Regions from separate parts of the Homo sapiens genome. Here all the other regions are linked to region 1. The links are contacts of gene promoters, found by promoter capture Hi-C in blood cells and fetal thymus (Javierre and others, 2016). All regions are on one chromosome and are shown on one strand. Each heading gives the region's core, a stretch centred on a gene start or on the middle of the fragment in contact. The rest is flanking DNA. Distances are from core to core; before and after follow the strand shown. Region 1 holds the start of SERGEF (secretion regulating guanine nucleotide exchange factor). Region 2 holds the start of PIK3C2A (phosphatidylinositol-4-phosphate 3-kinase catalytic subunit type 2 alpha). Region 3 overlaps PTPN5 (protein tyrosine phosphatase non-receptor type 5). Region 4 holds the start of IGSF22 (immunoglobulin superfamily member 22). Region 5 overlaps IGSF22 (immunoglobulin superfamily member 22). Region 6 holds the start of SPTY2D1 (SPT2 chromatin protein domain containing 1). Region 7 holds the start of UEVLD (UEV and lactate/malate dehyrogenase domains).

Region 1 (3,542 bases), core at 489-2,988:
CTTGGACAAGGTCTAAGACCATCCCCCAGCCAGTTTGCTCAGGTATGGGAAATACTCACATGGGAAATGGACAGTTTTTATTTTGAAAAACTGTGGGTGTGAAAGACCTCCCCAAAGCATCAGTTTGTCTTTGCTCAGCTATTAGAGCAGATATCCAGCCACAAGCCCTTGTATTTCTCAGAACGGATTGGACAGAAGCCTGTCTGGGTCCTAAATCTAGAGGGATGCATACCAAGCTCTCTCAGGGACCCAGGTAAAGTAACTTTCCTTAGACCTGAGATGGGTTGAGACCCACACCACATTGATAATTGTGGCCACATATCCTACTAGAATTCTCTCTGGCCTCTCAACCTTTTTCGTAGACTGAAAGTCATACACTGGTTTCTAGACAGTTGCTTTGCAAGACCTGCTTTGGTGGTCTTGAACCTTACTTTATGATATAGGAGTAACTGGCACTTGTTGCTCAGCCAAAACTGAGCGGTGAAGGATCCCATTTTTACATCCTGTTACACATGCTTCAAAGAAATGGTCAGCACAAAAAAGCCCACTCATAAGACAGTCAGTAAGCATGGTATAGCTCCTGCACATTCAGATCCCTAGAGAATGAAGAGCTGTTTTATCTCTCCAAAGTTTGCTTTTTTCTTGGTATGGTCATCGACGTTCTCCAGATGCCACAGGTTGGAGAGATAAAGGTGAGGGGCTGCCCTCAAGTGGTCTTACAGGCAGAAACTCCTAAAAGTGGATGGAGTGAAAGAACAGGAAAGGACAGTGTAAGAGCTCATTGGAGACACTTCCCAGAAGCCCAGGGGTGAAGGGCAGTGAGTGCTGGAGGCCCGTGTCAGCAGAGGGGCCAAGTGCTACCGAATGTGAATGTGGATGATCATCTTTAATGTGACCCTATGTGTTCTGTATTCCCGGTACGCGGTGCCATATTTTCCTTCAGATAAATTGAACTTAATTAACTCCCATCAGCAACACGACGCTGTCTGAGAAAAGCCATTTTATATGGAAATGTTCGTTGGGTGACGATTATCCAGTATTATTAATAGAATGAGCTCAGGGCCGTGCCCGGAGCGCCGAGGCTGCCCCGGCAGGAGTCGACGCTAACCAGCCTCCCCCATTCAGCGTCGCGAGGCGCGGGTTCCCGCTCCGTGCCAGGTGCAGAGGGCGACACCGGCGACGTGCCACTCCACTCGCCTCCCAAGGCGCCCCCTCAGATGTTTGCGAACGCACACCAAAGCGGGCTCAAGACAATTGCGCCTGAGACGCCGGGCAGGACCCTGCCCTACCCCTCAGGCTCCATTTCCTGTTCCCGCAAATGGTGATGCCATCGCTGCCCTGTCAGCCCCTCTGGGCTGTCGTGGGCCTCCAAGGAGACAAAAACGCGAAGGAGCTTTGTGAACTGTGGCGCGCAGTGCACCTGCATGAAACATGAAATTATGACTAAAAATAAAGAGTACGAGGGGGTAGGAGCGAGAGGCTGAGAGGCCCAGCGAGACAGGAGGCTGCGGGCGGAGACGCTGCGAGCGCCGCCGGGGCGGGCTGACTGGGAGGCGGCTCCGGGGCTGTCGTCCGGCCCCGCCCACCACTGATCCCCAGTGGCCCGAGGGCCCGGCCGCACCCTCTCTCCCGGCCTGCGGGCCGCTTCCCACCACAGACCCCGCCCCGCGCCCTACCCATCACGCGTCCCCGGTCCGGCTCCGGCGCTCACCTACCCCCGGCAGGCGCCGCCCCCGTGCCGTCCCTCCCGGAAGCGCCGGCGGAGCGTCCTCGCATGGAGCGCGAGCCCAGCGCCTCGGAGGCCGCCCCCGCGGCGGCCGCGCTCTTCGCCTGGGTACGTGACTCCGCCCCCGGGCCGGTGCAGGCCCTGAGGGGCGCCGAGATGTGGGAGCTGCTGGCCGCGGCGTGGGCAGTTCAGGGGCTGGGCGGCTGAGGTCCGAGCCGGGCTCTGGGTTGAAGGATCCTGGGCTGGGAGCGGAGGGGGAGCGGAGGAGGAGCGGGCGGGCGGGGAAGGAAGGGTCTTCGCGGTCGACTTAGGGGCCTGCCGGCTGGCGGGGTCAGGGCCGGAGGGGCTGTGGCGCCGCGGGAAGAACCTGCCTCGGGGCAGAGCGTCTGGTTCCGCGAGAGCCCTCCAGCCCGAATAGCGCCTGGAAGACAGCGCGGAGGGCTCGGTGGAGAGGATCGCCCGGTCCCAGAGCTCCGTGGGGCCACCTGTGCCCCCCACACTCCTGATGCCTGGAGGAGGGAGACCCTGTCCCAGCCTGGCGAAAGCATCCTTTAGATGTGAGGCCTGCGGTGTTTGGCCGCGCACAAGGCACAGACCCTGCCTATTTGCTGACACTCTGCTGTGACCGGTTCTTGCATGTGTTGGGGGAGTTGGGCTGCTGTTGGTTTGACGGGAGCATTGGGAGAGACAGGGTCATCTTGATGTGTGTCTGGGAGAGAGGAGGGTTCATGCACAGGAGCGTGGCAGGTGGCCGACCAGCATGCACGGGAACAAGCAGTCGCTGCGTCTTGTGCTTCTTCATAGCACGTATCACAATTGTAATGATGTGTATAATTTATTATTAACGTCAGTCTCTCTGGCTGGAAAGTAAGTGTGGTAAGAGTGGGTGCTGTGCCTGTCTTGTTCACGGTGCCTCTCTTGGTGTCTGGCACATTGTAGGTCCCCAGTAAATACTCGTTGACGAATGAATGAACGAGCATCTGTGTGCCTACCCATGTGCTGGTGTTGGGGAAATACACATGAGTGAAATACACGAGTGAAGGACTTCCAGCTCTTGTGTTGGGGGAGAGCAAAATTATAACCTGTATTGCTGTTAAAATCAGTATTAGTTGTCCAATTTTTAAAGAAGTAATGATCAGTACAAGGCGGCAATTGTTGAATGTGGGGCTGCAATTTGGCAGGAGGGAGAGCATGGCGTGACCTGCGGTAGTCTGGCTGGCTGGGCGTCTTTGAGGTGGCCCGGGAGCTGGGGGTGGAGTTGGGGATTGAATGTGTGCTGTCTCTGGCTTTTTCCAGGCAGGAGACTGGCGTCTGTGTGGACAGAGGAAACAGAAATATTGTTTCAGTACAGACAAAGCCGAATATTAAAGGTTGTAAAATATGTTTAATAGGTTGTTGACACCCTTCTGCTGTGTTTGGAGGACTGGTAGTGTGTTTTTCCTGCTGTATAATCTGAAACTGTGGGGGTGTGTTGGTCGGCTAGGGCTACCATAACAAAATACCACACAACAGAGGCTTAAACAACAGAAATTTATTTTCTCACAGTTCCAGAGGCTAGAAGGCCAAGATCAAGGTGTGAGTAGGTTTGGTTTCTCCCGAGGCCTCTCTCTGGCTTGCAGATGGCCGCCTTCTCACTGTGTCCTCACATGGCTTTTTTCACTGTGTCCTCACATGGCCTTTTCTGTGTGCGTGAGCATCCGTGGTGTCTCTTCTTTTAAGGACACCAGTCATATTGGATTAGGGCCCCACCCTTATGACCTCATTTAACCTTAATTGCCCCTTTAAAGGCCTTCTTTCCAAATACAGTAAGGTACTA
Region 2 (3,542 bases), core at 567-3,066, 810 kb after region 1:
CTCAAGGACCAGGGCCCTCTGCTGCTGAGACTCAGGGGAAATACGTTTCATTAAAAAAAAAAATTAGAAGAAAAAATCCAGTCTGTCTCGCTGGATCAAAAAAAAAGAAAGGAAGAAAGAGAGAGAGGGAGAGAGGAATAAAGAAAGAGAAAGAAAAAGAAAGAAAGAAAAAGAAAGAAAGAAAGAAAGAAAGAAAGAAAGAAAGAAAACAAAAGAAAAAAAAAAGACAGACAAATAGTTACTCTTTCCTGAAGACTCAGTGTTCTCCCAAGGCCTCTTCCTTCTTTCCTGAAGGCACACTCAGATCTGGAGCAGAAGCTAGGAAGCTACCCTGAGATAAATCACTTTCCCCACCCTTTTTAATCTTGTGAAAGAGCTGCTGCCAATTTTAGAAATTCCTCCTTTGATCAGAAGATAAAGCAGAACAATGCTGCGGAACTAAGTTGATTTCTAAGGGACATTCTTCTAGAGTGTGTAGCCTGCCTGGAAGTGTGTGTGCATAGAGGAGGGGCGGGGTTGGGGGAAAGATAGGAGTTGGAAGGGGGGGGGGTGTACAACAGCCAGTAGCTACAGCCGTAAGAAATAATCACATTTGTTTCTAGAATTCCCCATAGAATAGAAACTCCATCCAATTTTACCATCCCTGCGGAGGTGCAGGCATGTTTATTACAGCGCTATGAGGGATTCATCCACTCCACATTCCCCATTGCCCTAGCCCCCTTTCGCCAACCCCCGTCCCTGCCAAATCAGGCCAATTTCTTTCTTTCCAGTTATTTGCTGAAAGTTCAACTTCTCTTAGAGCCTTCTAATTATGCGTATATCATATAGGCTGATAATTTTTAGTTTAGGCTGAGAAATGCAGCCTAAATCAGTCTGCCACATCAGATTGTGAACGTCTGGATGGTGTGGACCCCCTTCTCCTACTGCTTAAAAGACAATCTTGTTGTAAAACGCTATGGAATCGTTCCTCTCCCCTTAACATCTTTGTGCCCCAGAAGCCCCATCTGTAAATGGGGATAATTTTCCTATATCTTCCCATGGTTACGTAATTTTTAGATCTAACACGTGAGGACCAAACGCTTTACAAGCATAATCTCATTAAATTCTCAATAAGAATATATTATTATGGAGGTTGCATGTGAAAATACTTTGTAATGTAGAAAGAGCCGTCTGGCTGTGAGTTATTATCAGGGGGTTATCTTCCTTACCTGGCTGTTGTGAGGATGAAACGAGACGCCGACCTGAAAGCGTTTTACGTGCTATCAAGCATTTTACAGAAACCACGTGATAGGCTACTAATTACCCACCGTATACCACCTGACCCACCGTGAGGCCTCGGTAAATACTGGTTGGAGTGGACGAGTTTAAGTCTTGCCTGTTCCTTTCAGTCTTCCAATCACAAAGTAATCTCGGCGCCGCCAGGGGCCAAGACACAAATCTGGGAACCTCAGCCTAGATGGAGGAGGGTGCGGGGTCCCGGGAGAGGGGATGAGAACAATAGGGTACTTCAGTGCCCGGGCCCTGTTTAGCGGGTCTTCGGACTCAGGGCCCGAGGGGCGGCCAGCTGGGGTGTCCGGAGAGCTCCCCTCCCCAGGTCTGGGGTGTGCACGGAGAGGCGTCCAGAGCCTGCTCAGCATTCCTCGGGAGAGAGCCAGACCCTGGTCCCCCGGGCCCGTGCGCCCCAGCGCCCCAGCTCCCTTGCTCACGCCACCCCGGCAGCGTCCAAGCCCCGCCCGCCAGCTCAGGTAGGCCGTCCGCGCCAGCCAATTCGCAACAAGTCCGGGCGGGGAAGGCGGTGCTTCCCTGTCCGGAAGTGACGTGCTGCGCTTGGCTGGCTGTGGAGTCGGCCGAAGCTTTCGGCGGCGGCTGAGCCAGCTGAGGGGAAAAATGGCTCGGACTGTGGCGGCTTCGGCGGCTCAGGTTGTGGTAGAGGCGGAGGCTCAGGCAGCTTGAGGTGAGGAGCGGTCGGTGCGGCTGGGGACGATATTCGGGGTCCTGCTCTGCAAGGGTGGAGAGGGGCCCCGGGGTTCCCGGGCTGGAAGGGTCTCTTGTCGCGGCCCCCAGTGCCTTGGGTGCCCGCGTCTGACCCTCCATCCCGTGCTCTTGGCGTTGCCCAGCCCGACTCCCCCCTCCCTCCGGGCCTTGCTTCCACCCAGGCCGTGAGCAAGTGCTGCGCTGGAGGTGCGAGGAGCCCGCGTCCCCACCAGGCCCCTCTTCTCGGGAGCGGAGGTGCGCCAGGGAGTTAGTTTTGTCCCACAGAAGGAGGGCAGGCCCCCCGGCCGCCGGCCCCCCTCCCCCGCCTTGTCCCGCGGGACCGGGCTGGAGCCGCAGTGGCCGGTCCTATTTTCTTGGCAGATTGTTAGTTCTGGCGAGTGTGTGTGTTGTACTTCTCAGTGACGGCCCCTTCTTTCACCTCCTGTCCCATCTCTGGCTCTGGGGGCCAAGGATACTTTTTCTTCTTCCCGGACCCCCCACTCCCACCGCGTTGCCTTTAGCCGCGAATCCACTTGCTTTGGGAACACTATTCTTTCAGTGTGTATTTAGCGCATCATCCTTCTGAGAGAGCGGTCAGATTAAAAAATACTAGCTTAACTCTTCCTGAGTGACGGAGGAATCATAAATAATTGAAGAAAAAGGCACATACTTATTTTCCTCACTGAATTTCTGGCTTTAAAAACGACATTCTCTAGCTGTGGAATTATTTTTTGGGGGAGGAGGGATTGAGGAGGGAAATGAGGAAGGAGAAACTAAGGAAAAAAGTCTGGACATAACGTGGAAGAGAGAGCCTGTTGTAGTTCTTTTCCTATACTGGCCCGATAGAAATTGAGGTTATAATTATATTCTTATTTTGAACAGTGGGGGTTTGAATTAAGTGAAACGAAGGAGGCCTGCCTCTTTGAACAAGATTAGTTATTAAAGAATGTCCTGAAATCTTTCCTGGTGGGTTTCAGGCAGAAAAGCTCTGTTGGGAAAATTTTTAAATCTATTGTAGCATCAAAGGCCACAGCATATAAGAGATGCAAGAAGAAGAAAGCTGTTTGTAGGGGAACGGTGAAGACATAGTAGAAAGAGGGAAGGCTGCACAGAAGTCCAGGAACTAATTCCAGGAGAGACTTTGTACCTTTGCCTCCTTGGCTTGTGGTTCAAGTCTCCACAAGAGACTCCTTTAGCAGCTCTGCCATAGTTGGGGTTGGTGCTCTTTTTTTTTTTTTTAATTGACATGGGGTCTCACTGTGTCGCCCAGGCTGGTCTACCATGCCCAGCAGAATGGTGCTTTTTTTTTTTTTAAATTTGATCTAACCTTATCTGGACAGGATGGTGCTCTTATTCACAGCAGCAAATTAGACGAAAGGACCCTAGTTGAAGTATACAGATTTTATTTTTATATAAGATATTTGTTTAGTATCAAGACAGTGGTTACATACTGAAAAACAATGTAACTGGGAATAGAGAGATTTTATTTGTTAACTCAGATTTAGTTCAAAAGTGATTTTACGTAGGTAGAAAGCACATATGGAGTTTCTTCCATAAATTCCGTAATT
Region 3 (3,542 bases), core at 328-2,827, 760 kb before region 1:
AGGCCAAGCCTTCTCCATCTGGATGCTCTGGGACACGTGACCCATTCTCATGAGGTGTTCAGCCTGATCATTCCTTTTCCATGAAACCAGCATGCCCTCTGCCCCTGCCTGCTGAACGTGCTGATGAAAATCTGGATGGCATTATGGGCCTCTTCCTGGCTATGGTTTGGCCATCTTCTTTAATTGGGATGCTCCTAGCTGGAGTCTGCCTTCCTAGAGCCCCTAAAGCTACCAACCCTGAGACCCTGCCACTACCCTGCATTTGGCCTTTAAGGTGTACATCAACAGGCTCAGGCCCTGTGCTAAACACCTGGGATGCAGAGGTGGTTGAGGGGGTGAGGATGCTCCAGAGTCGGAAGTTGGTGGGAGAGGCAGGTGCATACACAGCTAACTATAGCAGCAGAACAAAGTAAGAGACAAAGGGACATATGAACCAGGTGTGTGGGGGAGCCCAGAAGTGGGAGGACGCAGTTCTTCCTGAGAGATCAGGGAGTGCTCCGTGGAAGACGCACCGCCTGAGTCGCACCTTGGAGAATGAGTAAGATTTGACAAAAGGGGAAAAGGATCTTCCAGGCTGAGGGAACAGCACAAACAAGGCTCGAAGGGAGGAATGGACAGGTTTGATTCAGCGAATAGAGATGTCAGGTGGGGTTGGAGCTTTAAGAGGGTGGTAGGAGCTCCACGTTGACAGTGAGGGGTATTTACGGGGTACCAGGAGCACAAAGCCCAGGATAGAGGGCATGTCTGCCTGGGCTTGGCTCAGCCTCACACCCAGGAATCCTGGCTTCAGCATCCCAGTTCCCCCTTGCTCCTCACCGACCTTGGAAGCAGGCTCAGGCTCCCTGATTGGCTCAGCAAACCAGCCAGCTCTTTCTCTGCATAAGTCCTGGGCAAAGCTGGGACTTCATGTTAGGAGACTCCAGGATGTCTCCTAATAGCACCCCCCATCCCCCACTCTACCCCCCAGGCAGAGGGGCGGTGCCTTTGTTAGAACACTTCACCCAGCCCACGGCAGCAGCTGTTCTGTATCTTCTGCACTGGCCGTGAACTTCTAGAAAATGGGGTGGGTGGTCTAGGCTGGATCTCCAGCACCCAGCACTGGTGGCGTAGCTGCACAACGCATTACCTTCACACATACGAACGAGCAGAGGAAGGTGATGACCTTCAAGTTACAACAGGCTTGGAGTCTGACCACCATATTTTCATAAGTGAGGCCTCAGACCCAGAGCGCAGAAAGGATTGCCCAAAACCACAAGCGTGATGGGAGGAGAGTGGAAACAGAGCAGTTTGGTTCACAGGAGCACTACTCACAAATAGCCAAAAGGTAGAAACAAGCCAAATGTTCAACTGATGAATAGATAAATAAAACATCGTCTGTCCTACAGTAGAATATTATTCAGCCTTGAAAAGGAATCCATGAAAAGGAATGAAGTACTGATGTATGCTACGGACTTGCTAAGTGCAAGAAGCCAAACACAAAAGCACAAAAGGCTACATATTTTATGATTCCATTTATATGAAATATCCAGAATAGGCAAACCCATAGAGACAGAAAGCAAATAAGCCGTTGCCAGGGGCTGTGGGGAGGAGGACAGGGAGTGACTCCTTAATGAGTACAGGATTTCCTTTTGGGGTGACAAAAATATTCTGGAAGCAGATCATTATGATGGTTGCACAACATTATGAATGTATTAAATGCCACTGAATTGTACCCTTTAAAATGGTCAAAATGTTGAATTTTATGCTATGGGAATTTTAGCACAGTAAAAAGAGTAGTTTCAGACCAGATCGGACGCTACCAGCTGGGTCTAAAGTCCATTCCTTAAACGTAAGCTGCTGCTCCCCCACTTCGTGTTACAGACCTACCCAGCCAGACCAGGTGTGAGAGAGCCAGCATCACTCTCAGTGCAGGGAAGCCACAGGGAAGCCACATGATCAAGTGGAAGAGGGCTTCCCCCGCCACCCCAGGAGGCAGGATTCCTGTCTTCTAGGCTGCTTCTTGCCCACGTGCCTCTGCTGAGGCCTAGCCCCCATCTGCTGCTCCATCCCACTGACCAGCCTACTTCTGATGGCACCAGATGTTCCACACATCTTGGGCCTCCATGCCTTGCTCTTTCTATTTGCTCTACCCAAGAAATCCTTTTCCCAACCCCCCATTCACCTAAAAACATATTTTAAAAACCAGTCCCTGGCCGGGCGCGGTGGCTCACGCCTGTAATCCCAGTACTTTGGGAGGCTGAGGCAAGCAGGATCACCTGAAGTCAGGAGTTTGAGACCAGCCTGACTAATACGGTGAAACCTCGTATCTACTAAAAATACAAAAATTAGCTGGGCATAGTGGCAGGCACCTGTAATCCCAGCTACTGGGAGGCTGAGGCAGGAGAATCACTTGAACCGGGGAGGTAGAGGTTGCAGTGAGCTGAGATAATGCCTCTGCACTCCAGCCTGGGCAACAGAGTGAGACTCCGTCTCAAAAATTAATTAATTAATTAATTTAAAAAAAAACCAGCTCCTGTCTCCCCCTTGGAGAAGACTTCCTCTTCCCCTTGCCCCTCCCACAAATGAGCAGAGCCTTCCCCAGGATGGTCACATGCATACATCAATTAAAGCAGGCATCAGGGTACAGTCGTGTCTGCATGTCTGTCTCCCTGAGAAGACTGGGAGCCTGCAAGGAGGGGCCTGGATTATTCATCACTGTATTCCTAGGGCAGCTCCAGGCCTTGCTCACAGGAGGTGCTCAGCACACGCCTGTTGAATGCGACGATGGCTTTGGGAAGCTACTTTCACTCCGGGACATCCTCCATCAGTGAAGTGGGGGCAGGCTGGGTGATTTCCAAGTCCCTTCATCCCTGGTGGTCTCTGGTTATAAGGGAAGCAGTGGTGGGGGCAGCCCAGCAAGTGGCTGCTGTTGTCACAGGCCAGTGTTCTGTTCCTGTTGCCTGGCTGATAGAAGTGGGGAAGGAGAGAGCAGGAGCCTTAGCAATCCAATAAAAGCAGCTATTTCTGCTCTTGGTGGGGAGGGAGGAAGGCAGCGCCCAGAGACTGGGTTCCCCATCCAGCCTGAATGGGCCATGTATTTTCTTTGGAAAGCTAATTAAACCCTCCTCTGGACAGTCTAGACACGCAGGCTGTGGCTGGGGTTGCCTGGAGTCCTTCGACTACAGGGAAGAGCAGCAGAGGCTCTTGCTCCATTTTCCTTTGCAGTCAAGAGGTGCTACTCGTTCTGCTTTTCTGGTTATGAAATTAGTCATTTTCTAGGAAGCTTATTTATAGAGTCCACTGCACACATGAAGCACTGAGCTATTCTGAACACAGCTTGGGGCCTGAGAGGCTTAAGGTGTGAAAGCAGGTGTGAGTCACACATGGGTCCCCTTCCAGAGGTATCTGGATACTGTGCCTTTCTGTACCCAGCCAGGGGTCAGCCCTCATGGGCTGCCATCCAGCTAGGTGCTCGTTAGGGTAAGGAAAGAACAAGTTTAGGATTGGAAGGTTGGGGGTGGGTGCTCTCAAACACAATCCCTGTGGCCACCACCAACTCAGTA
Region 4 (3,542 bases), core at 731-3,230, 710 kb before region 1:
CCTTCCCAGAAGTCTCACTGCGTGTTGCTCTGCGTGTGTTCCCATGTCCATGCGTGTGTTGAGAGCCCATCAGGAGGGCATGCATGACTCTTTGGCAACATGTATTATCTTGGAGCCACGTGTTTTTATTGCTGACTTTAAATATTTATCCCACGGCAGACAGAGACATTTGGTGTCTTTTTATAATTCGCTCGTGGTCATTGAATAGAGCAATAAACGGAGCATTTTGAGCAAAACTAACCTCCTGGGTCTGTGTGATTTGCCTCTCCCCTCCACTGCCTTCCTTCCTGTACTTGGGTCTTTGTGCCCCTCCCCAGCATGAGCACAGTGAGCTTGGCCCTTCTGCTCACTGGAGCCCCTTGTGGAGACTGGGAGTATGGAGCGAGTCCAAATTTGTAAAGCCAAACTGGGAACATTCTGCAGGATTCTCACACAGCCTCAGCCCTGGCCCTGACACATGCTCTGGGCCATGGGGAGCCTCAAGGACAGGTGTGGAAGGCTTCCAGGGAAGGCACAGTGGCTGGCAGGTCACCATTTCCAACAGATGTGCCAGAGAAGCCAAGGCTAGGGTAAGGAGACATTCAGGTCACACCCAGGCCCCTCCCTGTTGGCCAAACTCTTATCCCATGTTAGCTCCACAGATCCCAACAGCAGCTGCAGCCCAGTAATTTCCCTTGTAAGGCCTGGGCTCAGAGTAGCTCCTCCCAAGGGGCCCAGGGAATCTGCATGTGGGCTGAGATCCTGAGCCATCCTGGACACTCCTGCTCTATTCTTGTCCCCTGCCCCCCTGGGATGGAGCAAAAGTAGCCATGATGCCACTGCTGGCAGGTGGGGGTCACCCCAGGGCAGAAGGAGGGGTCCAGGGCAAGGGTGCTGACCAACAAGTCCTTACAAGGTGCCAGAACCTTGGGTGGGATCCAGGGTCCAGGCATGCGGGGTGTGCTACAGATGATGAGAAAACAACAGGGTGGGCTGGACACGGTGGCTCACGCCTGTAATCCCAGCACATTGGGAGGCCGAGGGGTGGCAGATCATGAGGTCAGGAGTTCGAGACCAGCCTGACCAACATGGTGAAACCCCATCTCTACTAAAAATACAAAAATTAGCCGGGCGTAGCGGTGCACGCCTGTAATCCCAGATACTCAGGAGGCTGAGGCAGGAGAATCGCTTGAACCTGGGAGGCAGAGGTTGCAGTGAGCCAAGATCGTGCCACTGCATCCAGTCTGGGTGACAGAGACTCCATCTCAAAAAAAAGAAAAGAAAAGAAAACAACAGGTGGCTGAAGCAGCCCAGATGGAAGTCCTTGAGAAGAGGTGGCCATACTCTCCAGTCACCCTCAAGCAGAGACCTCCCCACAACCCCCGGAGGATGGGCCCTCCTACTCTTCTACCCAGATTAGGGAGATTGGGCTGTTGAAGTGGGAAGAGGAAGGAGACCTAACATTTCCCTGTTCTTCCCCAGGGTGGCCTTGTAAAGATACTCAGGCTGTGTATGAACCACACATAGGAGTGCAACATGAATGGGAACCCCTGGATTTGTGTAGCAACGCAGCAGATCCCAGAGGCCCTCCCCAGTTCACCGTGTCCCAGTCCCTGGAAAATACAGACCTGTTGCTTTGCTCCCTGAGCCCTGCTGGACTATGCATGCACCTGTACCTGAGTGTGTGCCTGTGCACACACACTACCCTGAGCCCCTCAGCTCAGAGAGGTCCTACCCAGCAGCAGTGAGAGCCAAAACCTGTACCACAAGGGAACAAAAAAAGTACCCCTGGACTGCCACCCTCAGCCTCCTTCCCGCCTGGCCTTCAGTGTTTCCCCCAGCCTGGATCCAGCTTTGCTTCCCGCCTCCCTTCTCCACCGCCCTCCCCCTCCCCCCACAACCAAGCAGTGTGCCATCTAGCTGAGACAGCTGCAGAGCCTGACTAAGGAATCGCCCCCAGGGGGCCAGACATTTAAGGAACAGATGACACTGGTAGCCTCACTGTTGGGGCAAAGGAAGAAGGAGACGGGCCACCCTACAGTCCAGGCACTAGCTGAGCCTCCAAAGCCGTGGACACAGCATTCGAGTGTTGGGAGGGACTGGTCAGTGCTGAAGGTAAGGCTCCCCTCCTCCCTCAGGAAGGGGACAAAGCTGACCACCTTCTGAGCCCAGAGGGGACTATAGGGTAGAGGGCAGGAATAGGAACAGGGGAGTAGTCTCAGAACCCAAAGGTAGAAGCAGCCCAGGCAGAGATATATTAGGGGGTGGAGAGAGGGAATAGAGTTTAACCCCTAACTACCTGGGTTAAAGAAGGCTTTGGAGCCCTCTGGGACGCCACTGGACTGGAGTCAAAAGCTAGGAGTCTAGTCTGAGTGACCTTGGACAGGTCATTTCTTTCAGACATCAGTTTCCTCATATACGAAATAGGACTTTAAAAACTGCAATGCTGGGCCAGGCGCGGTGGCTCACGCCTGTAATCCTAGCACTTTGGGAGGCTGAGGTGGGCGGATCACGAGGTCAGGTATTCGAGACTAGCCTGGCCAACATAGTGAAACGCCATCTGTACTAAAAATACAAAAAATTAGCCGGGTGTGATGGCGGGTGCCTGTAGTCCCAGCTACTCGGGAGCCTGAGGCAGGAGAATTGCTTGAACCTGGGAGGCAGAGGTTGTCGTGGGCCAAGATCGTGCCACTGCACTCCAGCCTGGGCAACAGAGCAAGACTCTGTCTCAAAAAAACAAAAACAAAAAAACTGCAATGCTGGCCACATGCAGTGGCTCACACCTATAATCCCAGCACTTTGGGAGGCCAAGGCAGGCGGATCAATCGAGGCTAGGAGTTTGAGACCAGCCTGGCCAACAAGATGAAACCCTGTCTCTACTGAAAACACAAAAATTAGCTGGGCATGGTGGCACGTGCCTGTAAACCCAGCTGCTGGGGAGGCTGAGGCAGGAGAATGGCTTGAATTCGAGAGGAGGAGGTTGCAATGAGCCGAGATCACCCAAAAAAAACCGCAATGCTGGTTAAATAAAACATTGAGAAAACATGGTGCTCTGAACAGGAATGAGGAAACGCTATCATCTGGTATGGAAAAAATCTCCAAGACACATTAAATGAAAAAAGAAAGGGTCAGAATAGTGTGTATAATGGGCTACCTTATGTGCTTTTTTAATTAAAAAAAAAAAAGGAAGATGATAAGAACACATGAGTTTTCCTATTTGCATGATGGAGGTCTAGAAGGAGCCTAGAGACTGGCTACCTGTTGCAATGGGGAAGGTTGTAAGATAGACGCAGGAGTGGGAGGGAGCCTGTCCATATGGATTTTTATATTGTTTTATTCTTTAACTATGTGATTGAATTACCAGTTCAAAGAAAAATGTAAGAAAAACTAAACCTTTGCCTTTACCATGTCGCAAACACAAGCAGAATTGTAGTGATGTTTTGTCATCTGTTTTAGCATTCCACCAGTGCCGGGGTCCCCAGGGCCCAGGAATAAGAGACACAGCTTCCTTCTAAAGCCCACTCCAGTATGGCTTAGTCAGGAAGTTCTTTCTTAGGTCTGAC
Region 5 (3,542 bases), core at 1,043-3,542, 700 kb before region 1:
GCCAAGACAGGAGGATCACTTGAGCCCAAGAATTCAAGATCATCCTGGGCAACAGAGTGAGACCTTGTCTCTAAAAAAGGAAAAAGAAAAAAGAATCACTGGTTTGAGTTTATTTAAGCAGGCGAGGCAGAAGTCAGCATGAGGTGGGCAAATATCTACATGCTCCCCCTCCTAACCTTTGCACTCTCTCTTTCCCCCACAGAGCCTCCTGGTTTTGCCTCCCAGCCTCAAGTGACTGATGTGACTAAAGAAGCCGTGACCATCACGTGGAATGCCCCTACCCAGGATGGGGGAGCCCCAGTGCTCGGCTACATTGTAGAACGAAGGAAGAAAGGCAGCAACCTGTGGGTGCCAGTCAACAAGGACCCCATCCAGGGTGAGGTCCTTGGAACAGAGGCCCAGGAGTGACCAAAGGAGGTCTTGCTGAGTGGACCCATTAACTACTGACACAGTCCCTCATCCAACTCTTCTGGAAGTTTTAACAACATCCCATGACCTCCTCTTCTATGTCTCTCACTCTTGTTCTCACCCCATGGATGCCTCTGGCCTCACGACCCCTCATCTTCCCATTTCAGGCACCAAGTGCACTGTGGATGGTCTCCTGGAGGACACAGAATATGAATTCCGAGTTATAGCTGTAAATAAGGCAGGCCCTGGACAGCCCAGTGTGCCATCCAGCTCAGTAGTGGCCAAGGATCCTGTTAGTGAGTATGCGGCTGCCAGGTCCTGACACATAATGGAATTAGCCCATTCAAAGTAGAGAAAGAATTTCTTCCCCGGGAAAGTATGACACGAGGTATCACAGTCTCTACACTCTGGAAACTGCCAGCCTCATAGAGGGACAAGATTCACACACAAGAGAAAGCCAGCAAATAAAGATTGAGAGTCAGGGACAGTGAGGAGGTGGGGTGCAAAAACGTTTTTTAAATTTCGTGTATTTCTAGTTAGGTGAGGTAGGAGAGGCATGCTGAGGGTTGAGTAAGGGTGTGAGGTAGATGGTTGGAGGGTGTTGCATTTAGGAAGCAAGGTGAAGGTACTGCCTGGAAGTGGATGTGGTGGAGATGGTTGGGTTAAAGGCTGGGGTTTTGAATACAGAAGCTTTGAATATGTGGGGTATGTTGAATTTAAGGGGTATTGAGTTTAAGGATGAAAGTGTTAAAACAGTAAGATAACTGAATTTGAATTTGGAGGTTGAGTGTATAAGGCTAGGTACTAAGGGTGTTAACTGAGGGATCTGGAGCTAGAAGTAGTGAAGGATGGGGTTCAGGAGTATTGAGTGTGGGAAGTGAGCAAGGCATTGAGTGGAGATGAGTTGGAGGGGCTGACTACATGTCTGTTCTACCCCAGAACCCCCAGGCCTGGTCCAGGACCTGCATGTATCTGATTCCTCCAACTCCAGCATTTCCCTGGCCTGGCGGGAGCCTGCAGAGGGAGACCCACCCTCTGGCTACATCCTTGAGATGAGGGCTGAAGACACAAAGGAGTGGTCCAAGTGCACAAAGATCCCCATCTCAGGCACCTGCTACACAGTGGGAGGACTCATCGAGAGGCAGAAATACTTCTTCCGAATCCGGGCTGTGAATGAGGCTGGGGTTGGGGAGCCTGTGGAGCTAGACAAGGGGGTCCGTGCCATGCCACCACCAGGTGAGGACACAGAGAGGGCTGGGGATTCATGCCCAACATTGTACCTCCAAACCTTCTCCTCTGGGGCCTCATCCCACAGGAAAATTGGATGATGCTAGGATCATGAAAAAGTCATCCATAGTTGTTGTGCCTGGACAAAGTTAGGGGTAACTTCAGGGGCACCCCTACTAAATCAATCATTGTGTGCCAAATAGCATCTACTGTGTGTCAAGGTGTAACCACCCAATGGGTTCTTCTTGCGCATTGTACACGCAAAACCAGTTCACTGAGACCACAGCATTGCAACAAAGAGTTTAATGGACACAAGGCCAGCCATGCTGTATGGGAGACAGAGTTATTACCCAAATCAATTCCCCGAAAATTCAAAGTCCAGGGAGCCTGCTTCTGACTGGGGCCTCAGGACTTGTGGGGTGGAGGGAGAGCAGGTCCAGGTGGAGCCATCAGTCGTCAGAAATGCAAAAACCTGAAAAGACATCTCAACCACCAATCTTAGGCTCTACAATAGTGATGTTATTTGCAGGAGCAGCTGGGGAGTTGCAAATCTTGTGATCTCTGGAATAATGGCTGGTAATCTTTTATGTCTACACCTTAGCAGAATTCAGGCTCCTCACATCCTCCTAACCTGGTGGCCTTTCATTAGCTTCGCAAAGGTGATTTAGTTTGGGGGAAGACTGTTATCATCTAAGCTATAAACTAAATGTCTCTCCCAACATTAGCTTGGTCTGAAACCAGGAATGATTAAGGGCAGTTTGGAGGGTAAAGGCAAGATGGGGGTTGGTTAGATCAGATCTCGTTCACTGTCATAATTTTCTCGCTGTTATAATTGTTGCAATGGCAATTTCAAAAGGAGGTGTTAGGGTTATAGAAACAAGACACAAGGACTTGCCTTCCAGGGTCTTGCGTACTAGTAGAAGGAGACAGATGAGAAAACAAATAAATGCTTCACAGGGTTGCAGGGCAGCTAGATGTCTGTATGGCCTGTAGTGGGGGCATAAAGGAGGAGAGGTTGGGAAGGCTTTGATGAGGAGGCTTAAAGCAGAGTCTTCTTGAAAGACAGATCCATGCCTCCACCTCTGTCTCCTCCATCTCAGCTGCACCCAAGTTTGACCTCAGTGCCCGGCTGAAGAGTCACATGGTGGTTCGCGCTGGGACAGCCCTCTGCATCCATGCAGCCTTCTCTGTGAGTTGTCCCTGACCCTGACCTCCATACACTGTCCACATAACCAAGATGGCTATTGTAGCCATCACAGTCTCTGACTCTGACTCTGACTCTGCCCCTCACCAGACCCCTAGTGCGACAGCCTGGCAGGAAACTCCTCGACAATGGAGGAAGGCCTGCCCCCAAATATCATCTGTGTGACCAGTTGTGCCATCTCCTGTCACTACTCAGGGCTCACCACCACCTGACGTGATCTGGCAGAAAGATGGCGTTCCCACCAAGGGCCGAGAGACAATTACCAAGAGCAAAAACCACTCCCAGTTCCTCATTAATAGCACCAAGCGCTCTGACTCAGGGGTGTACCGAATCTTGCTTCAGAATGAGTTTGGAGAAGCACGCTATGACATCCATGTGCGCGTGGCAGGTATGGAGAGAAGGCAGAGGCCTCCAAGACCCATCCCTGTACACTCTCCAAAGCACAGCTCCCCAGTGCCGCTTGAGTTCCTACCACAGGAAAGTCATGCCTTAGGGCCATGAAGATTTCTTTGACACCACAGAGCAAGACTTTATCATACAGAGTATGGTCGGCAGAGAGAGTAGAAATGGGTGGAGGGGCAGGAGGGACAAATGGAGATGAATCCATTAAAAATTGGGGTGACTGCTTAAAGAGAGCTGGAAGCTTTAAAATAAAGCTCTAAACCCCCAAGGAAGGAATGGATTCATTTTTACTGAACAGTAA
Region 6 (3,542 bases), core at 625-3,124, 620 kb before region 1:
ATAGCCAATAGTTTAAAAAAAAAAAAGAACAAATATGTAATTACAAACTGTAAAATGTTGCATGAAGGGAAATACTGGGGGGCTGTAAGAATTTATAAAAGGGGCCCTGAGATAGCTCAGGAAGAGCTTCCTTGAGAAATGATGGTTGGCATTAATTGAAAACACCATATGCCAGTGTATTCGTTTGCTAGGGCTGCCAATAACAAAGTACCACAGACTAGGTGGCCTAAACAACAGACATTTATTGTCTTAACAATTCTGGTGGCTAGAATTCCATGATCAAGGTGTGGTTACCTTGAGGTCTCTCTCCTTGGTTTGTACATGGCTGTCTTCTCCCTGTGTTTTCACAAAACGATGTAGGAAAGAAAGGCTAATCTATAATCAGAGGAACAAACGCAGCTGCCTGTTATGTAGCTCAGGTTCCATAATAACATTCTTTTAAGGCGCAAAATAACTTAAAGTTCCAACAGCTTTGATTTTGAATTACGTTCGCAGCATTAAACCATCAAAGAGTAAGAGCCAGCAGCTTTGTCTAGCATGTTTTTTGTTTTTTTTTTTTGAGACGGAGTCTCGCTCTGTCGCCCAGGCTGGAGTGCAGTGGCGGGATCTCGGCTCACTGCAAGCTCCGCCTCCCGGGTTCACGCCATTCTCCTGCCTCAGCCTCCCAAGTAGCTGGGACTACAGGCGCCCGCCACTACGCCCGGCTAATTTTTTGTATTTTTAGTAGAGACGGGGTTTCACCGTTTTAGCCGGGATGGTCTCGATCTCCTGACCTCGTGATCCGCCCGCCTCGGCCTCCCAAAGTGCTGGGATTACAGGCGTGAGCCACCGCGCTCGGCCTGTCTAGCATGTTTTAACAGCTTGACATATTTACATACTGTATCATTCTCACCCGTCTTAAGTGTACGATTTTTAGTACATGTATAGTGCAACCATCCCCACAATCCAGTTTGGAGGCATTTCCATCCCACCGAAAAGATCCCGAGTACCTGTTTGCTATCAATCCCCTGGCGGGTTCCCACTTGCAGACCCAGGTTTGCCTAATTATTTTCAGTGTTTTTGCTAAGTCGAAATGACCTTACAGATCCAAGATAACTCTCCAAAAGAAGTCAGGACTAGGATCCCAATGAATATGAATATGAAGCATATGTTCATCAGTACACCAAAGTTATGTCAAGGCTGGGTCTGTATGTGAAATTCCTTAATCCATTGCCTGAGCAAAAACACAGGTTGGCTGCTCCACATAAAACTTACTTTCTAAACGGGGCAAAAGAAGTAAGCGCGTGCCCCCATCCCCGGCACGCGTGCATCTGAGTAGGAGGTAAGCGCACGGCATGTGGCCGAATTTGATGAGTAATGGGCATCCAAGACAGGACCACGGCGCTGCTGTGTGCGCCTGCGCAGCTTCGCGAGCGCCTAGACACAAGTAGCCCAAACCCCGGCTCGAGATCCGTCTGTTCAGCTGTTGTGGCGCCGCCGTTTTGGATCTAAGCGCCTACCCGTGACACCCAGAGAACCCAGGCCTGGCAAGTAAACCCTCTACCCCCTCACTTTCTCTACCCAGCGCTCACAAGGAGCAACAAGATGACAAGACCGCGCGCCCGGGCCACCAGGGAAGCCGCTCTCTCGCTTAGCCACACCCCCTTGGTTGCTAAAATGCCTAGTCCCTGCCCCTCGGGTCGACGCCAGCAGCCACGTATCACGTTTGTACGTGTCTCGGCCTAAAAGCGGAAGTTACGCAGGGACTCGCGAGCGCTGTGGCGGCCCTGAAAGGATATAGGCCGTGGAGGGAAGGGGGCGGGCAGACGGCATAGGAAGGCGCCGGAAGTGGTCCCGCAGAGGCGGGGTGGGAGTGGGGCTCCCGAGGCAGTGCAGTTGGCTGTAGCTGGGCGCCTCGGTTAGGTGCGCTGTCAGTCCTTTCCGAGTGCCTGGCCCAGTCTCTCCCGCCTCGGCCCAACATGGACTTCAGAGAAATTCTCATGATAGCTTCCAAGGGACAAGGTGTCAACAATGTGCCGGTAAGTAGCAGCTGGGGCATCAATGTAGGGGACCCTAGTCTTCCAAGTTCGGAATGTGTGTGGCCCATGGAACTTCTGGGCAGCCGCCTATCGGCTCCGGGAGAGGAAAGACCCGGACGCCTTATTTCCTTTTCTTGGGTTTATACTCTTGGGAACTCGGGAGAAAAGAGCTTGGGACGAGACGCGGGAGCCTTCCTGTGAATGGGTTTCGCCGGCTTATTTACCCCTGCAACAGGGACTTTGCGGTTTGGGTGTTGTAGCTAGAATTGCGTGAAAGCCGTGAGTGAGCTGTGCCTGGCACGCTGTGGATTCTAGCGCTGGTAGTTTTTGGCTTCCACATAAACTTCAGCCTAGAGATTGGGAAGGAAATATGTATGTAAGGGAGTTAGGGGGTTTGGGGTCCTTGGCTTGATAGCTTTTTGGCTGGCTTCTCATCGATCTTCAAGTCAAACGTTTAGCGATTTCTTGAAAGAATTCTCTGACTCGGCCCCACCCACTCAGCCACCGAGGTGATTAAATTATCACCTCCCAGGGGATAGGTATCATCTTTTGGGAAGAGAAGTTTAGCAGATTCCACGAAATCCTTGGCCAACAGAATAGGTGAGCTAGTTTCAGCTTCTGTTTACTTGTAGCCTTCCAGATTTCAGTCTTTGTTTAAAATCTAGGTCCCATTTGGTCAGTAGATGTTTGTCAGTTCGCTTACAGTCGCAAGAGCGGTGTAAGACTTAAATGGTAAAGTGGTGGAGAGCGCCTGGTTTCTGGGGGTTATGGCTGTTTTGCATAAGCTAATCATTTCCAGATTTTCAGATGGTACCCACAGCACAGCTGTAAACCGATAAGTTGCATGGTGATGCCTGCGGTTTGAGCAGTGAGGTATAGAACTAAAACGGCTCTCAAAGTCAATTCAGCTAGAATTTATTGAGCTCCGACGAAGTGCTCTGCATTTCCTAGATATTCGTATATTGCAATATTCGTTTTTTTCTCTTCTGCAGCTTTTTTTTGTCTTCTGAGGCTAGTTCATTCTTTTATCCCTTTGAAAATATTGATCTGAAAAAGGTCTATATTTATGTTTATAAATATATGTATATATACACACACACAGCCATCCCTTATCCCAAGAACTCTGAATAACCATTCCTCTAAGCCGTGAGTCATAAGCTTTGCATGTTGAAGGTATAGACTCAAACCTTTGAAACCCAGATCAACAGATTTACTTTCTAGAAGCATCTGTAAATTTTCCAGATGAATCAATATTGGGTCTAGTAACCATTCATCTTTGCATAATTTGGTCTGTATTTCATTCTAGATCTTATTGAATTTCAGTAAAGGTCAAAGATAGTACTAGCTTTGATGCCCAGTACTGTTCTGTGGAAGAATCAGAACTAAGTCATTTCTTATTCTGAAAGCCAGTAGCTGCTGGGAGAAAAGCAGACAGATAATCCTAAAGCAGAAAATTTCAAAATATGTGTATATGTCATAATATATGCATTATCTATGATTGGAATAACAGAAGAATCAAAAAGG
Region 7 (3,542 bases), core at 701-3,200, 580 kb before region 1:
GTCAGTCAGACTATAAAAAAGGGACACAACAACAAGGCCATTTCAAAATTGTGTCTAAGCAGAGACAAGAGAGCAAGGTCACTGTGCAAGCCATGAAATACCAAACGTCCTTCTCTGCTATTATGAGTGACTGCTGCTTCTTTACTAGGTATAGCTTTATCCTCACTCTAGTCTGTCCATCTTATAGACAATACTTATTCAGATACCTAGTCACAGAAATGTCCCTGCTTTCTGACAGCACCCAATCCAGGGTGAAGCCTGGCTTTCTTGAGCCCTCCCGCAAATCGCCCAAATTCTATAATAGGTTCTCTCACCCTCACCAAGCTGTCCCAATGGTCCTCCACAACACCTGCTTCCTCACTGCAAGAACTATTAATAATGAACTCAACTTGTTTAAGCACAGGTGTGTTCCTGATGGTCTCTGGCTGGAGGGCAGGGACAGGCCAGAGTCCTTACAATTGTCTACAAAGTCCCACAGTGGTTCTTGGACTTCATCACCCATCAGAATCATCTGGAAGAATTGTTAAAAGAGAATTGCTGGTCCCCAACCCCAGAGCCTGTGATTGAATAAAGCTGGGGTTGAGGTCTTAGCATCTGCATTTCTAACAACTCCCAGCACCTGAGGCTGCAGATCTGGGGCTCACACTAGAAGACTCACTTCTCTAAACCACTTGTTCCCCCGTCTTATTTCCCTGACTTAGCCTCCTTGTCTCCACTCCCATCTTACTTCATTCTACTCCAGCCACACTGGCCTCCTTGCTGTGTTGAGCCTCCCTGGGCACATGCCTTAGGCTACTGCTTTGTCTGCACTCGGATTCGTAACACTTACTCCCTCACCCCTCAGTGAGACCTACCCCAATCTCCCTACCCTTTTCAGAATTTATTCTCCACAACACGTAATCAACCTTCTGACATGCTGAATAATTTACTTATTACATTTATTGTTTTGCTCTCTCTCTGCTAATAAAGGAATGACACCCTTAAGACATCAGCTATCTGAGTGTATTTTGTTCACGGCTGTATCCTGAGACCTGGAAAAATAGCTGGCAAGTAGTAGATGCTCAACAAAAACTTTCTGAATGAATGTTCCTTCCAGCTTTTCAGCTTCTTCTCCTGAGTCAGGGCAGCACTCCCTTCAGATCTTCCTATAAATACAATCTCTCTCCTATATGTCCAACCTCTTGACAATTACAATATCCAGCTCCTGGGACTTTTCGCTTCAGTGGCTCAGGCCAGGGATACAGGGCAGGTAAGTCAGCCATGGGCCAAGGAGATCAAACAACGCCAGAAAATTACTGTATCCTGCATCTCTTCTTCACCCACCTTCTCCAGATGACCTTATCCACCCATCTCCCTCCTCTCTTGTTTTCCAACTATTTGTTCACCTGGATTTCTCCTCTCTTTGACCACCAACATTGTTATGGCACCCCTAAAAAAAATAAAAAAAGCAACCACTCTCCCCGTGCTAAGCCACCCTCATGCTGGGGCTGTCCTATCTCCGCTTCTCCGGCAAGGCTCCTCCTGACTTTGTTTTTCCTTTCTACTCCCTGAAATTTTGCTTCTGAAGTTCCATTACCGCCTCCTTCCTAAATTCAACTGCAATTTTCGGTCTTGCTCTTTCCTGATACACTGTGGAATTTAATACATCTGTCTGGAAACTCTTCAAGAACACCGCGTGTTGCCTCTACCTCCTTTAGTGCTTCTACTCCGGTCCTTCCTAGTCTTCTCTTCATAAGTGTCCCCAAGTTTCCTTCCAGGAAGATGGGTCGTGGTTTCCTTGACGCCAATGCGTTTCTGGCCGTGCCCTCGTCACTTGCCCACTCCGGGGTCACGAAGGAGAGGCCCCGGATTCCGGGCGCAGCCGCGGCTGAGCCCGGGGCGTTGAATGCGGGTGGAATTTCCAGTCTGGGAAGGGGCGGGGCCTTGGACCGCCGGGAAGTTTGGTCCTCAGCGGCTTCCGTCCTGCAGCAAGTCCGGAAGAAGGTCCGGGGGCTGGAGTCCTGGGACCTAGCTCGGGACCGGCCTGGAGATGGAGTTCGACTGCGAGGGCCTGAGACGGCTGCTTGGCAAGGTGCGGGCAGTCCGCTGGGCCAGTTTGGGTCCTCAGGGTCTTGCGGGGGGTGCCTCTGCCTTTGGCCAGGTTGCCTCCGTTTTGCGTTTCCCGGCTTGTAGTGGGGCTTGGAGCCGGGGCGGCTGGTCTGAAACCGGCTATGGGGCGCGGCCCCAGGGAGGCTGAGGGGACCTGGATTCTGATTTCTCCCGCAACTCTGAGGTTTCCCAACCTCCACCTGGTGCGAGCCCTCCTCATACCCCCAGCTTCACTGACCTCAAACAGCTCCCAGCACACGCCTAACCACGCCTTTCTCTCTTTCTCTCTGCTGAAATGGTCTGCCTTTTTTTTCTTTTTTCTTGAATTGCAAAGCTCATCCTTTGTAAGACCCAACTCAGTCACTCCCTGTAAGATTGAATCAACCCTTCTGTTTTGAAAGATATCGATTATCACATTGTGGAGTAATTATGTATTTACAAACCGTAATCTTGCTGTGAGCCCCTTTGACTGCAGACATTGTGCTTTTGTATTCCCTTCCTCTAGCCACTATGTTTGACAACACCATAGGTACTAAGTAACTGTGCAGTGAATGAAAGACCTGAGTAGATTTAGAGATGAAGACAGAGCTTGAAGGCCCTGGAGAGATCTTAATGTTGGAAGGCTGGGGAGTAGGCGGGCCGACCTAGAAATCTGACCTATATTTCTGAGACCTGACTAGCCTGAGTTTCCGGTGTACAATCTGAGGGAATCCCCGCCAATTTTCTAGTTAAGAAGACTAGTTTTCACCAGTTTCCTAGTTAAGGTGGTTTTTTGTTTTTTGTGTTTTTTTTTTTGACAGAGTCTTGCTCTGTCCCCCAGGCTGGAGTGCAGTGGTGCGATCTAGGCTCACTGCAACCTCCACCTCCCGGGTTCAAGCCGATTCTCGTGCCTCAGCCTCCCAAGTAGCTGGGACTACAGGCGCGTGCCACCATGCCTGGCTAATTTTTGTATTTTAGTAGAGATGGGTTTTCACCATGTTGGCCAGTCTGGTCTCGAACTCTTGACCTCAAGTGATCCACTCGCCTGAGCCTCCCAAAGTGGTGGAATTACAGGTATGAACCACCGCACCCGGCCTTAAATAATTCTTAATGCTTCTTAAGACTTCCTAATGCAGAAACCATAGTTTATGCCATTTTTGTTATACTTGCCTCTTTCTTTGTTGGGGCAGTTTACATACCCGTGGGAGGTTTTGAAGTCCTAAGATTGAAATTGTTTATGTAAGTGACTTGAATGAATTTATCTACTGCGACAGGTGCAGATCTTGTAGGAAGAGAAGTATCATAATGCTACCCTTTCTGTCTCCTCTTCAGAGCATGTGAAATTAAAAGAACCATTCAAGTTTTAATGTGCAGAGGATGATGGATTGTCCGATGGGAAGAATTGTTCAAGTTAAGATTCAAACATAGAGCATATTTTTGGTGGCACTGGAATGAAGGAAAAGAAGAGAGACAAT

What was found. The method cuts DNA at HindIII sites, captures the fragments that hold promoters and counts their contacts. A CHiCAGO score of 5 or more calls a contact.
Region 2: a contact is called between the fragment with the promoter of PIK3C2A here and the fragment with the promoter of SERGEF in region 1, in 12 of 17 cell types (total B cells, M0 macrophages, naive CD4 T cells and 9 more). The highest score is 19.0, in total B cells.
Region 3: a contact is called between a fragment that was not itself captured here and the fragment with the promoter of SERGEF in region 1, in 1 of 17 cell types (non-activated CD4 T cells). The highest score is 5.3, in non-activated CD4 T cells.
Region 4: the fragment with the promoter of IGSF22 here is called in contact with the fragment with the promoter of SERGEF in region 1 in 14 of 17 cell types (total B cells, naive B cells, non-activated CD4 T cells and 11 more); the score reaches 21.8 in total B cells.
Region 5: a fragment that was not itself captured here is called in contact with the fragment with the promoter of SERGEF in region 1 in 3 of 17 cell types (non-activated CD4 T cells, total B cells and naive B cells); the score reaches 6.4 in non-activated CD4 T cells.
Region 6: the fragment with the promoter of SPTY2D1 here is called in contact with the fragment with the promoter of SERGEF in region 1 in 4 of 17 cell types (total B cells, naive B cells, non-activated CD4 T cells and 1 more); the score reaches 7.2 in total B cells.
Region 7: a contact is called between the fragment with the promoter of UEVLD here and the fragment with the promoter of SERGEF in region 1, in 4 of 17 cell types (naive CD8 T cells, M0 macrophages, total B cells and 1 more). The highest score is 8.0, in naive CD8 T cells.

Annotation. Positions count from the first base shown.
Region 1 is chr11:18,011,243-18,014,784 of GRCh38, reverse strand. SERGEF (secretion regulating guanine nucleotide exchange factor) reads left to right here and starts at 1,738. Exons shown (of 11, transcript NM_012139.4): 1 at 1,738-1,834. The coding sequence starts at 1,775. RefSeq lists enhancers at 1,021-1,070, 2,429-2,945, 2,946-3,463 and a silencer at 1,451-2,070. The HindIII fragment of the contact is 12,002 bases long and covers 1-3,542 here.
Region 2 is chr11:17,206,260-17,209,801 of GRCh38, reverse strand. It overlaps PIK3C2A (phosphatidylinositol-4-phosphate 3-kinase catalytic subunit type 2 alpha), which reads left to right and starts at 1,816. Exons shown (of 33, transcript NM_002645.4): 1 at 1,816-1,954. RefSeq lists silencers at 1,668-1,747, 2,098-2,357 and enhancers at 1,888-1,997, 1,503-2,025, 2,026-2,549. The HindIII fragment of the contact is 7,601 bases long and covers 1-1,855 here.
Region 3 is chr11:18,768,352-18,771,893 of GRCh38, reverse strand. All of the region lies in intron 2 of PTPN5 (protein tyrosine phosphatase non-receptor type 5), which reads left to right. Among named protein-coding and RNA genes, the nearest start is that of PTPN5, 22 kb to the left of the region's middle. RefSeq lists enhancers at 383-882, 883-1,384, 1,636-1,685 and a silencer at 1,217-1,266. The HindIII fragment of the contact is 3,375 bases long and covers 1-3,264 here.
Region 4 is chr11:18,724,626-18,728,167 of GRCh38, reverse strand. IGSF22 (immunoglobulin superfamily member 22) reads left to right here and starts at 1,980. Exons shown (of 23, transcript NM_173588.4): 1 at 1,980-2,094. The region is part of intron 2 of IGSF22-AS1 (IGSF22 antisense RNA 1); the gene reads right to left. It overlaps PTPN5 (protein tyrosine phosphatase non-receptor type 5), which reads left to right. Exons shown (of 15, transcript NM_006906.2): 15 at 1-240. The HindIII fragment of the contact is 7,417 bases long and covers 1-3,542 here.
Region 5 is chr11:18,707,489-18,711,030 of GRCh38, reverse strand. IGSF22 (immunoglobulin superfamily member 22) reads left to right here. Exons shown (of 23, transcript NM_173588.4): 16 at 203-376; 17 at 576-704; 18 at 1,348-1,644; 19 at 2,736-2,824; 20 at 3,035-3,227. The region is part of intron 2 of IGSF22-AS1 (IGSF22 antisense RNA 1); the gene reads right to left. Among named protein-coding and RNA genes, the nearest start is that of IGSF22-AS1, 2.8 kb to the right of the region's middle. The HindIII fragment of the contact is 2,384 bases long and covers 1,101-3,484 here.
Region 6 is chr11:18,632,674-18,636,215 of GRCh38, reverse strand. SPTY2D1 (SPT2 chromatin protein domain containing 1) reads left to right here and starts at 1,874. Exons shown (of 6, transcript NM_194285.3): 1 at 1,874-2,018. The coding sequence starts at 1,959. LOC105376578 (a long non-coding RNA gene) reads right to left here and starts at 1,867. Exons shown (of 2, transcript XR_931097.3): 1 at 1,255-1,867; 2 at 223-336. RefSeq lists an enhancer at 1,384-1,653 and a silencer at 2,710-2,889. The HindIII fragment of the contact is 3,460 bases long and covers 1-3,178 here.
Region 7 is chr11:18,587,142-18,590,683 of GRCh38, reverse strand. UEVLD (UEV and lactate/malate dehyrogenase domains) reads left to right here and starts at 1,950. Exons shown (of 12, transcript NM_001040697.4): 1 at 1,950-2,071. The coding sequence starts at 2,030. It overlaps LOC112268073 (a long non-coding RNA gene), which reads left to right. Exons shown (of 4, transcript XR_002957242.2): 3 at 1-148; 4 at 404-591. RefSeq lists enhancers at 1,833-1,882, 1,788-2,082, 2,143-2,202, 2,243-2,392, 2,793-2,902. The HindIII fragment of the contact is 11,919 bases long and covers 1-3,542 here.